Regions from separate parts of the Homo sapiens genome. Here all the other regions are linked to region 3. The links are contacts of gene promoters, found by promoter capture Hi-C in human tissues and cell types (Jung and others, 2019). All regions are on one chromosome and are shown on one strand. The core of a region is centred on a gene start or on the middle of the fragment in contact, and the rest is flanking DNA. Distances in the headings are between cores, read along the strand shown. Region 1 holds the start of LOC101927040 (a long non-coding RNA gene). Region 2 has its middle 120 kb from the start of LINC01607. Region 3 holds the start of MRPS28 (mitochondrial ribosomal protein S28). Region 4 overlaps LOC101927040 (a long non-coding RNA gene).

Region 1 (3,085 bases), core at 469-2,968, 160 kb after region 3:
AGCTCTTTCACATAGGTATTATCTTTATTTTATTGATGAAGAAACAAAGGCATACAGTAATTAAATAACACCTGAGATCACACAGTCAGTCAGTCCTAGAGGTGCAATTCCAAACCAGCTCTAATGGGCTAAGAGTTTATACTCCTCCCTCTGCTATGGGGACAATGTGGTAATGTAATCTACTTTAAGCCAAAAGGTGCTCCTTGGACAATTTAGAAGGTATATTGCTTTAAGGTAAAATCTTAACTGTATATTTACTTATACAGCTAGTGTTTGTGCTGTTGTTTTTATCAGTATATTGACAGAAACCGTTGAATCTGAAGGAAAAAAAGTGAAAACAAAACAAGACATGTTTGATGCTGTGGGAAGAAAGTATTAGAAGTGAAACCTAATCGTTCATGACATAGAAGGCATAAACGAAGCAGCAAACTGAGGAACTGGGGGAATTGGGGAAAAGGTGAGCACTATGTGCATTCTCACTGATCTGGCTTTTCCATGGTTCAGGGTGTCTAATAAAATGAATACATGCTCAGAATGCTGCCCCCCTGCCTTTCTTTCTTGGGTCCATAAATGACTCTAGTGAGGTGGGAGGTAGGCTCTTCATTGTTTCTACTTGGAGCCACTGACTTTAAAGTTTTAATAAAAAAAAAAATAGAGCACAAAGACATTTTCAAGAGAAGCCTTATGTTGCTTCTGAAAGCATTACAGTATAATCAAGAGTTTGCCTCCTTGAGTTCTTTGTAAGTTTGGTTGCCTAGAGAAACAGCCTGGCGGCCTCCAGGGTCATCACTGTGAACAAACAGCAGCTCCAGTGGGATGGCTCACACCTCTTAATCACTTCCAGCGCCAAGAGCGCAGGAGTCAAGTGCACGGGAAGAAAAGAGCCAACCTGGTCAAACTAGTTTGACTTTTAAAATGAACCTGAATCATACGTTTCTGTTCACTTTGAAAATAGTTCTGGACTATCATTTAAATGCCACCTTACACTGAGGCAAGTCTTCTGAACTACCAGATGTTTAAAAAAAAATAGATCAGATTCTGGTTCTGAATTTTTTCAGCAGCAATCACAAGAGTTGAATTTTTATTCATTTGTCTGCTCATTCATTCATTCATTCATTTATTCATCTATTCATCACTCAACAGGCATTCATTGTGCTAAATTCCTTGTGCTAAATTCTGCTTGGTGAATATTTGCAATCTTCGTATTATTGTTCAAGTGATTGCCCGTTTTTTGAAAAATAACAAACAGAAAGAAGATTATGAAGGCCAGGCACGGTGGCTCACGCCTGTAATCCCAGCACTTTGGGAGGGTGAGGCAGTTGGATCACCTGAGGTCAGGAGTTCAAGACCAGCCTGGCCAACATGGTGAAACCCCGTCTCTACTAAAAATAAAAAAAAATTAGCTGGGCATAGTGGCAGATGCCTGTAAACCCAGCTATGAGGCAGGAGAATTGTTTTAACCCCGGAGGCAGAAGTTGCAGTGAGCCGGGACCGTGCCACTGTACTCCAGCCTGGGTGACAGAGACCCTGTCTAAAAAAAAAAAAAAAAAAAAAGATTATGACTTTGCATAGAATTCAGTTGGGGGATGGAGAGGAGACAGAGTGGTTAGGATATTTTAACTATAAAATATATAGGGCCGGATACGGTGGTTCACGCCTGTAATCCCAACACTTTGGGAGGCTGAGGCGAGTGGATTGCTTGGGCTCAGGAGTTTGAAACCAGCTTGAGCAACATGCCAAAACCCCATCTCTACAAAAAATACCAAAAATTAGCTGGGTGTGGTGACCCATGTCTGCAGTCCCAGCTACTTGGAGGCTGAGGTGGGAGAGTGGCTTGAGCCCAGCAGGCATAGCTTGCAGTGAGCCAAGATCATGCCACTGCACTTCAGCCTCGATGACAGAGCCAGACTCTGTGTCAAAAAAAGAAAAAAAAAAGTGTGTGTGTGAATATATATATATATATATGGCAGAATATGATTATTCTTATGGTTCTGTTTCAATGGTACATTACCTTGGAATATTAGTCCCTAGGTTTTGATGATATATTTGCTTTTATAACTCATCAGTATTTTTTCACTGTGTAGATCAGTACCTTTTGGGTGGTTTTGAGTACATTATAATATTGTAGTTTACTTTTTGTGATGTACTGAGTATTTGAGGGTACTGCAAGGTGAGTATTTGCAGATACTACCTTTTTTAGTTTAAATATTAATAATATCCCCAGTTTCATAAGCTGGTTATGAATGTAAGACTGACTGATAAACAGATCTGACTTTTTCTGGAGGGGGCCTGGGCAGGAGCGGTATTAAAACTTTCTGCAAAATTTCTCCTAAGTTTCACCAAATAACAGAAAGCTGTGTCTGTTGGTCAGCATTACTAGTTTGTGGAAGTTGGGTCAGCATTACTGGTTTGTGGAAGTGGCTTTACCCTCTCATATTTGCTCATAGTCATTTTCCAAAATACTTCTAGGTTTCTAGTTAAAGTACTGTTGCCATGCCAGGCCCCTGAATTATGGCGGACATCTGAGGCCAGGACCAGGAACTGCCAAGGCTAGACTGGGAATGGAACAAAAGGAGAGCCAGACCCGGGAGCTGGCAGGACCGGGGATTGCTTAGAAACTAGCGGTTAAAGATGGAGTCTAGGGAACAGTCGAGAGTCACGCAAATGTTAGAGGTGCCCTTGGCCTCATGAGTGGTCGGTAGAAGGCGGCTGCAAGGAGCCTTTGAAATGGTGCCGAGTTCTTCCTCTGCCAGAAAGCCTTTCCTCCGCGCTGACTGTGTCAAAGGCTACTCCCAGGTGTGCTGAGCAGGGGAGCCGTGTGGGGGGATGGCCATCGAGTTAACCTCTAGAGAGGGGACGTGTGGGCTGCACAGGATTCTGGGGGGCTGACCTAGGAGGGGCAGCAGTGCAAGTCCTCTTACTCCTGGTCCTGTGCTCCTTTTAATACGCCACGCTGCTGCTGCCTCTGATCCGGAAAGCTTTTCTGATACAATGGCGGCTCCTCGTCTTCTTCCATCTCTAAGGAGATTAGTTAGTTACAAGGCAGGAAGTTGAATAGCGTCAGGCTTTAATCTCCTGGTTATTC
Region 2 (2,931 bases), core at 79-2,578, 140 kb after region 3:
AACCAATTCTCTCTGTCCAATGCTGAAAGTTTAGTGTGGAGCTGGGTACAATGAGAACCTCTGATCCAGATGCCACTCCACTCAGCCTGGGAGAGTCACGGAAGGGCATTTAGAAGTTCCCCTGCTTTCAGCCGTCCTCCCACTCCTGTAACCTGGGGTCCTCCCACCCACCCACAGCCCCAAATCTCTCACATCAGAATGGCCAAGGGTAAGGCAGAAACATCTGAGCTGATAATGCCTTTAGCATACTACCCTGCAGAGGCCTATGTGGCTCATGCTTGCGTTAAAACAAAATATATAGCCTGATAAATCTGTTAATTGTAGATACTGCTTCACTTCTAACAAAAAACTTTGTGTACTAAAGATTTAGGCTAAAAGAGCTGTTGATTTTTATGCGGGATTTTACTCTCCTAAAAATCAAGTAAATCAACTTAATGCCTTTTATGTATCAGGTGGAATTATAGACACCAGACAAGAAACATCCATCTATCTCCTTTCATTTTGTTACATATTCTCAAGGGGCCACATGATTGGCAGTAACTTTCTTTTTATAAATTCTAAACTGGGTTTCTACCGCCAAATCCCAGGTGGTAGAAGAAGGCATCCTGAGGCATCCAGGCCATTAGGGCAACTGAAAAAACTCTGCCTTCTCTTTCTAGAAGGCTTCCCTCAGTCCTTCCATTTATAAAAAATCATTTAGAGACATCACTAAATATATTATCATTATAACATTTGATTTACCAAAAAAAATACTCAATTAAAAATTCAGTTAAGTTCAAGTCCTATAGATCATGATGAGTTTACTGAATTGATCAGAGAAGTTAAAAGATGAAACTTCTGTATCTGGTTCTACCCCTCGTGTTGCTGGCCTTCAATAAGTCACTTGACTTGTCCGTTCCCATTAATAAAAACAGGAAAGCAGGACCTGTCATAAAACTGCCTGGGAAGTGATGAGAACTAAATACTTTTTTTGTGCGTTTTTTTTAATAAGGAAATGCTCTGGTGAGGTAACACTTGACTCAAACAATGACTCCCAGCGTTAACTCTCGGATACACAACTATCAGATTAGAAAGCATTTTTTAAAAAAGACTTATATGGCCATGCACTGAAGGTCATATACCTTGTTATTAGGAGATTCCCACAGACACCCACAGTTGCTTTTTCTTGAAGCACAATCCTAATAGTATTGGTTTGTTGTCATTTTTTTAAAATCCACCTCACAATAGACCATTAGAATGGAAAAGATAGAATACTCACTGTAACTGATAACCTGAAGAGAGTTTCAGACTTCAGAAAAGAAGTGCCAAGTAATTTAAAAAACAAATAGGTTCATATGGAGTCGTTGCATGTGTGAGCAAACTTCCCTTTCCAAGCCAGGCACGGTGGCTCATGCCTGTAATTGTAGCACTTTGGGAGGCTGAGGTGGGCAGATCACTTGAGCTCAGGAGTTCCAGACCAGCCCGGGCAACACGGCGAAACCCTGACTCTGCTAAAAATACAAAAATTGCCCAGCTACTCCGGAGGCTGAGGCATGAAAATCCCTTGAGCCTGGGAGTGCAGTGGTTGCAGTGAGCCAAGATTGCACCACTGCACTTCCAGCCTGGGCAACAGAGCGATACTCTGTCTCGAAACAACACCACCACCACCACCAAACCTTTCCTTTTCAGCACAAAAGGCCATTAATATTTTCCATATAAATGACAATAATTATGAACTTTAATCCTGAAGACAAGGTGAAATTACACTTATTGCACCATTTAGAAAGGCAAGCAAGTATAAGGATTATAAGGATTTTGATTTAAAATAGATTTTAGCACTTAAGGGAATAAGCTTTAGTTAGTTGTGAAATAGATAAGTAGAATTCTTCATTCCTCAAGAATGTTAGGTAAATGAAGCATTTTAGTAGAAAAATTAACAGCAGCTTAGTTTTACGTGTTACTCCAATGGATGCGCTTCAGTTAAACCTCAGACTATAAGGGGTGGTTGGCTCTGTGCTGATTGCAGGAAAGACTATCATTCAGTTTACATCCTCTTTCCCTCGGATTTTCCATCCAAGAAGAGTTGAGGCCTGGTTTTGCTTAGTTGTGAGATCCCAATCCAGAGGAGGCTGGCTAAAGACCATTCGGCATGTTAGATTTGGGTCAAATTCTCTGTGTATGTCATGAAGAATTGGGAGGCAGTTTGATAAAATTACAGAAAATATCTGGGAAAGGCAAATTCAGAATTGATCACAAGGATTACATGGAAAATTACACTAGAGGTGCACAGGGCACGTCAGACCACTGTTGGTCATGGTCCAACAAATATGAACAAAAGAATATCTGGGTTTCTCTAGAGAACACAAAAATAAGGAAACAAGATCAAAAGAACTTGGTTATTCCTGAGACATACAAAAAGGAAAAGAATTTATGTAAATGGAAATAGAGCATCAGAAATGAAATTCCAAGATTAAGATTTCATTTGTCTTAGCTCAATTGCAAGGATAACTGGTAGATGTTTCCAAAATTGATTCTAATATTTGAATTTGCAAAATCCTGGAAATTTCTAAAATCTGAGCTCTCATTAAAAAATTTTAAAAGCTCTTATCTTTCCCTGGAGTAATAATTATAAAGCTACATTAATAGATTTGACAGTGCCAAGACTTTCCTTGCTTTAAGAAAGGATGATGCATATCACAATATAAAATCACTTGAAAAAAAGAACTGTGTGCTTTCCCTGTATTATTTGATGTCTATTTCAAAACACATTCAAAATATCTCCTTTCTTCAGTAACTATGGTTGAGTCTATTTCTCTGCATTGCTATTTAGGGGTGTCACATTTGTTGAGCACTAGCGCTGTTCTAGGTGCTTACCTAAGTTATCTCAGTTAATATTCACAGCAATCCAATGAGGAAGGCATTTATTATCTTCTTTTTCTAGACAAGGAAGCT
Region 3 (3,160 bases), core at 643-3,142:
GCTGGAGTCTCGCTCTGTCACCCAGGCTGGAGAACAGTGGTGTGATCTTGGCTCACTGCAACCTCCACCTCCTGGGTTCAAGTGATTCTCCTGCCTCAGCCTCCTGAGTGGATGGGATTACAGCCATGTGTCATCACGCCCAGCTAATTTTTGTATTTTTAGTAGAGACAGGGTTTCACCATGTTGGCCAGGCTGATCTCGAACTCCTGACTTCAGGTGATCTGCCCTCCTTGGCCTCCCAAAGTGCTGGGATTACAGGTGTGAGCCACCACGCCAGGGGTGTGTTTTTACGGATACTTGAGTTTTGCACTTTTCACCCATGCTGGAGTGAAGTGGCAGGAACATAGCTCACTGCAGCCTCAAACTCCTGGGCTCAAGTGATCCTCCTCCATCAGCCTCCCAAGTAGCCGGGACTACAGGCATGCACCACTGCCCCAGGCTGATTTTTCTATTTTTTGGTAGAGACTGGTTCTTGCTATGGCCCAAGCTGGTCTCGGACTCCTCATCTCAAGCAATCCTCCCTCCTCAACCTCACAAAGTGCTGGGATTACAAGTGTAAGCCACCCTGCCCAGTCAGACTGAGGGTTCTTGAAGACCACTGGCCATGCTCTTTACAATTTACCACACTTTCTCCTGAAAAAAAGTGGAAGTAGCACTATCCGTAGAAAATAATGTTCTAGGCAAGAGTCCATTAATAGTCTCGGGAGATAAACAGTTTTAACTGCCAAGAGGGAGAACTCACCTGGAGAATTTAATGAATTTGTAAGGACTACCATACAGTTAGCTAGTAATAATTTTATGTGATTCATACAATTGTGCACCATTCTGAGATCAGTGTACTTCGTGTTCTTAACACTATCTGTACCATTAGAGAGCATCAGAAAAGCTTAAAACCCATAGTCAAGGCATTCTTAAAATAGGGTCTGTGATCATAAAAATTCTTTCTCTCGAAGTACTTGCAAATGAACTGGAAAGGTGTGTGCCCCCAAAATAAAACTAACTGTGGATTAATATTAAACTGCTGGGTCAAAGATAGACGGACAACTAATTAATAAACACTTAAGAATGATGTTAGGCTGTTTTGAACAGGGTGGGTAAATTTTGGGAATTAACACTGCAGGAGAAAAGGGAAAGAAAATCCAGAGTGAGGGTGGGGGCCTACGGCGGTGCAATACTTAGGGACATTCCAAAACTTCTGAACTCCTAAGTTAGATAATAGGTATCTAGAGGTGTCAAAACATTTCAGAAAAACTATTTTTGTGGCGTGAGTGGACTGGCTGCAGAAGTGGCAAAGGACAAACTTGGATGCAGGGTTTGGCAAATGTTGGGTGAGCCCTAATCTGTGCCTGGTGCTAGGGACCCTACAGCAAAGTTCCTCTTTTCAAAGTTTAAAAAGTTGGGAGTAGACACTAAATATTATTAAATATTTAATATTAATATGTGGCATATTAGAAAGTGCTACATGGTACTAAGAAAAACAGGTGCCAGAGAGTCTGCATTTGGGCTTCCACTTCTAAATAGGGTAATCAAGGAGACCCTCATATTTGAGTGAAGACCCCAAACTCGAGTGCTGGCGGCCATGTAGGGGGGACGGCAGGGCGGGAGAACGAGCGTCGCGTTAGCAGAATTTACAGTACAATGGGGTCCAACGGATGCCCAGGAAGGCGAAATTCCTGCAAGTTAAACGCACTTCTAACGCAAAACTTAACCAGGCCCCTTTCCAACTATTTAGCCCACCAATTTTAGCTTAAGTCTCTTCTTCCCCACGCCACTCCCAGATGAAAGGAAGACACGCCTCGTTGGCCTCCAGAGCTCTGCGTCCGGGGGGCGGACCTCTCATAGCTCCGCCCCGTGACCCGCGCGCTTGCGGAGGGGAGGTCAAAGGTCAGAGGTAAAGAAGTCATGGCGGCGCTGTGTCGGACCCGTGCTGTGGCTGCCGAGAGCCATTTTCTGCGAGTGTTTCTCTTCTTCAGGCCCTTTCGGGGTGTAGGCACTGAGAGTGGATCCGAAAGTGGTAGTTCCAATGCCAAGGAGCCTAAGACGCGCGCAGGCGGTTTCGCGAGCGCGTTGGAGCGGCACTCGGAGCTTCTACAGAAGGTGGAGCCCCTACAGAAGGTGGAGCCCGGGCGGGTGAGAGGGAGTCGCGGGAATTACGCCAACGACGCGGTGGGCGGGGTCGGGAATAGGGGCGGAGCCTGGCTTAGGAAGGGGAGCTGAGGTCCGGGGCCCAGTTTTCCGGAGTTGCGGTGCGTTGTGGCTCAGCCCTCGGCCCCTAGAATCTGTGCTTGGTGTTTTTCTTCCTTTCGTTGTCCTTTTGTGTGGCATTTGCGTACTGGGCCGGGTCTGTCCACACTGCGCTTGTTTTCCTGGGATTGAATGCTGGTGGGAAGGTAACCAGCGGGGAGCGCTGCTGGGGAGGCGATCTAGGGCGATTCCTGGGACGCTAAGGAGAATGGGACTCACACGGAGAGGCAGGGCTCTGCTGGGTCTTGTTCTGAACAGTAGCTCTAGCATGGAGCTTGCTGTCTGGAGTAGAAGGCCCTTCATAAACATTTGTTAATTTAATGACTGGGTGATGAATCACTTTCTGAACTTGGGCAAGTGATTTAACTTGTCAGCGCTTCACCTCTCTTTTGTAAATGTCTTCTTTTTTTAAAAAGTAAAGTAAAATCTCCGTTTGTCTCAGCCAGTACTTTTGTAAAATACCATAAATTTATAGATAAATGAAATGGAAGAAATAAAATTACAAGCCTAAGTTTTTAATAATTAAACTCAGCAGACATGAAATTGAATTATATACAAATAAACTCTCAATTTCTGTATTTTTCTTCCTAGGGAGTAGTACCAAACAGTTCACAAGACTGGCAGTGTCCTGGGTTATAGGGTCATTTTAGTAGCAATTACTGATGTCAAAATTTTTCTGAAATCCAAGGACTAGAAGAAGCCTGGTATATTAGTTTATTATTTTCTGTTGTAACAAATTACTACAAATTTAGTGGCGTAAAACACAGGAAATGTGTTGTTGTTAGGGTTGTGAGAAGTCAGACGGGATCTCACTGGTCTAAAATCAAGGTGTTGGTGAAGTTGTGTTCTTTTCCGTAGCTTCTAGGAGAATCTCTTCCTGGCCTGTCTTTTCTGCCTCTGTTTTCTACTTTTTTGT
Region 4 (2,918 bases), core at 146-2,645, 200 kb after region 3:
TGGACTGAGGGCGCAGGAGAGAGTGGTTTTATGCCACAGATACTTCATTCGTCAATGCTGTCTTCCAAATCTTTCTCCTCATGTCCATTATCACAGGCCTAGAACAATTGTTTTTATTAGACAGTTTAATACATTGCCTCTTAGACCAGCAGGCGAACCCGAGCATCTTTCTGACTCCTGTGCTGTCATTAACATGCTTCTTAATTCAGAACAGCTGTTCCTCCTCCCACTCCTCCTCTCTCCCAATCTTTGCTCCTTAGACAAACTTTGCTTATTCAGAAACTTTGGGAAAAAAGATTTTTGAGTAAATGAGAGTTCTGGAAACATAAGGATTTGTCTCTTTCAGCATGGACTTTTTAATTTTAAACATTTTTGATGAAAATCTTTCCAAAATACATTGTTTAGTACCTTCTTAAACAGAGAAAATGGATGAAATTTAATTTTTTTCTTGATGCCTTGGGATCATGACAGTGAACAAGATTTTGTTACTCTGCTGCAATGCAATAGGGCACATAAAGGGTCCCAAATTTTCAGATTCTGAAGTTATTTTGAAAACTTTTAAATATACTCTCGTCTCCCTGCTTTTCATCAGTCCATTGACCAATCACTCTGGTTATCAATGCACCTATTTCCAGAAATTCTTCTACCCTAATTTTCTGATGTTCAGTGTTTACTGTGAGCATAGAAGACCAATATAGACACACACTTACACGTGTGTGCATGCAGATGTGCATTAGAACTGTGTGTAGAGAGGTTTGAGGAGGTACCTGAGAGTTTCCTATGAGTAAATGGAATATGTTATGAGTTCTCTGTTTTGGTTTTCCAGAGACTGCTTTTGTTAAATTTTTTGCTCATTTTAGGAATAGAAAGTTGCAAGACAAATGAGTTTAATAATGATGAAAAGCTCCCAGATTTCTAGGAGCTATCTATCTTTCTAGAAAGTTCTTCCTCGGTTCATTTTTTTTTTTTTTTTCACTTAATGCAAGTATAGGCAATGGTTACTAAAAGGAGATTCCTTTTATGAGAGGCTTGTCATTTCATTATCCCAACTTCACATACAAATGATTTCATTATCTTTAAAAATGTTGTCGTGATATTCTCAAACTATTGTCATTTAAAAAAAAAACCCACCAGGTGCAAAAACAAACTGCAACCACAACAGCTAAATCTGTCTCTTTCTCTCATTGTCCTCTTTGGCAAAGATCTGTGGAAAGCTGAATAAATGAACAGGGCCATTTGACAGAGTGTAACCCACACCAGACCTGTTGTGCAATGCCTTGAACGTAAGTCCTTTTCAACTAAACGGAGGTATATTTTCTTTTATATTGTTGACTTTGACCCTGAAGCTTAGCAAAGAACACTTGTGCAACATTTTCTGGATCAATTTATCATCTGCTCAGAGCAGACATGCATTTTTTCTCATCATTAAAGGGAAACCAAACCCATCAACATAATCCCCGATTCTGCTTTGTTTCTTCCCAGTCCTTCACATTGTAGATTCTGAAATATTAATGAAGAGATGTGAAAGTAATGTGCTCTATTCTCACACCCAGCCCCAGTGGGAGGAAGGATATGGCCAGGGAGTAGGAGAATGAGAAATGTCCTCGTTTTGCAAAACAACGTTGCTCAAAGTCAGGTTGTTGGATTCTATCTCTGAATATCCCAAGGTGGTGATCTAAAATCCAGATTTCTGGGCTAATCTATACCTATGGAATCAATATTTCTGGAGGATGAGGCTTTGTCATTTACATTTTAAATGGATGCATTTAAAACTGATTGGACTAGATGGTGTCCGAGCTTTTTCCTTACTTAACAAATCCTATGCTGCTGGCTCTTATGTGAATACTGATAATAAACTGCTTACAGGCTGGGCATCATGGATCATGCCTGTAATCCCAGCTATTTGGGAGGCCAAGGCAGGAGGATCGCTTGAGCTCAGGAGGTTGAGACCAGCTTGGGCAACATAGTGAGAACCTGTTTCTATGTAAAAAAATTAAATTTAAAAATGTACTTACAGAATACTCATAATGAACTTTATTATTGTAAGAATAATAACTTTTGACTGTATAGCAGCATTTTTAACTTTTCAAAGTGTTTTCCTATTTTCCTATATATAACCCCCCAGAGGGGGGCAGGGGAGGTCTCATTACCTCCATTTTAGAGATGTAATAAAGTCCCCGAAGCTTAATGACTTGTGCCAACTACATCATAACTTAGTGGTCAGGAGTCAGGACTGGCACACAGGTCTTCTGACCTCATTTCACTGTACATTTGGTGTTCTAAGATCCAAGACACAAGAGGATGCTTTATTAAAGTGTCCTTTAAAAACGGACTTGAGCCGAAATCAGCGCCTTCCAAGCTTCTCCACATGCTGTTGAGTGTGCTGTGCATTTGCTCCTGAGAGACGAAAGCACAGATAAAGATGCCCTGCACACTGGGAGAGAAATGGGAATCTTCAAAACAAAGGAATCTCATTCCTCTTCTGTTCATCCCCTTCAATTTTCTGATCCTTTCCCTCCACTCCCTCTTTCTTGTAAAGACTTAAACTCTGAAATAATTATATGAAATTAAGTCGGTAAAAGCCAGGCTCGTTTCCTTAAGATTGATGTGTTAACATTTGGGGCAGTTTTCTCAGGACTCAGGGAGACGATTATTTCTGAGGTTGGCTGCGGGAAGCTTCCTCTTCTCTAGGGAGGGGTGAGGTTCCCTCCCAGGACACCTCCCTCCGTGACACAGCCTAACTGTTAGCAGAAGTTCATAAAAAAAGTTGGTTGATTTTTTTAAGTGCTGGAGACTTTTCTCCTTTTAATTCCGGTCATAACTACCCACTGTCCAAAAAAAGGAGACACAGCAGGCTCTAAACTCTCTCTGAGACTGAATGCAAATTGAGTGTCTGGGAGTCTGAGGGAGGTGCGGGA

The links. The method cuts DNA at HindIII sites, captures the fragments that hold promoters and counts their contacts. A contact is called where the count stands out against the background at its distance.
Region 1: a contact is called between a fragment that was not itself captured here and the fragment with the promoter of MRPS28 in region 3, in 2 of the 25 tissues and cell types used here (adrenal gland and hippocampus).
Region 2: a fragment that was not itself captured here is called in contact with the fragment with the promoter of MRPS28 in region 3 in 1 of the 25 tissues and cell types used here (H1 embryonic stem cells).
Region 4: a fragment that was not itself captured here is called in contact with the fragment with the promoter of MRPS28 in region 3 in 2 of the 25 tissues and cell types used here (adrenal gland and dorsolateral prefrontal cortex).

The regions. Positions count from the first base shown.
Region 1 is chr8:79,871,280-79,874,364 of GRCh38, reverse strand. LOC101927040 (a long non-coding RNA gene) reads left to right here and starts at 2,628. Exons shown (of 6, transcript NR_110954.1): 1 at 2,628-2,796. The HindIII fragment of the contact is 9,505 bases long and covers 1-3,085 here.
Region 2 is chr8:79,887,341-79,890,271 of GRCh38, reverse strand. No RefSeq gene overlaps it. Among named protein-coding and RNA genes, the nearest start is that of LINC01607, 120 kb to the right of the region's middle. The HindIII fragment of the contact is 7,138 bases long and covers 1-2,931 here.
Region 3 is chr8:80,028,991-80,032,150 of GRCh38, reverse strand. It overlaps MRPS28 (mitochondrial ribosomal protein S28), which reads left to right and starts at 1,892. Exons shown (of 3, transcript NM_014018.3): 1 at 1,892-2,115. The coding sequence starts at 1,903. All of the region lies in intron 5 of TPD52-MRPS28 (TPD52-MRPS28 readthrough), which reads left to right. It also overlaps a transcript of TPD52 not described here. RefSeq lists an enhancer at 1,740-2,169. The HindIII fragment of the contact is 9,025 bases long and covers 1-3,160 here.
Region 4 is chr8:79,828,866-79,831,783 of GRCh38, reverse strand. All of the region lies in intron 2 of LOC101927040 (a long non-coding RNA gene), which reads left to right. Among named protein-coding and RNA genes, the nearest start is that of LINC01607, 62 kb to the right of the region's middle. The HindIII fragment of the contact is 3,269 bases long and covers 1-2,918 here.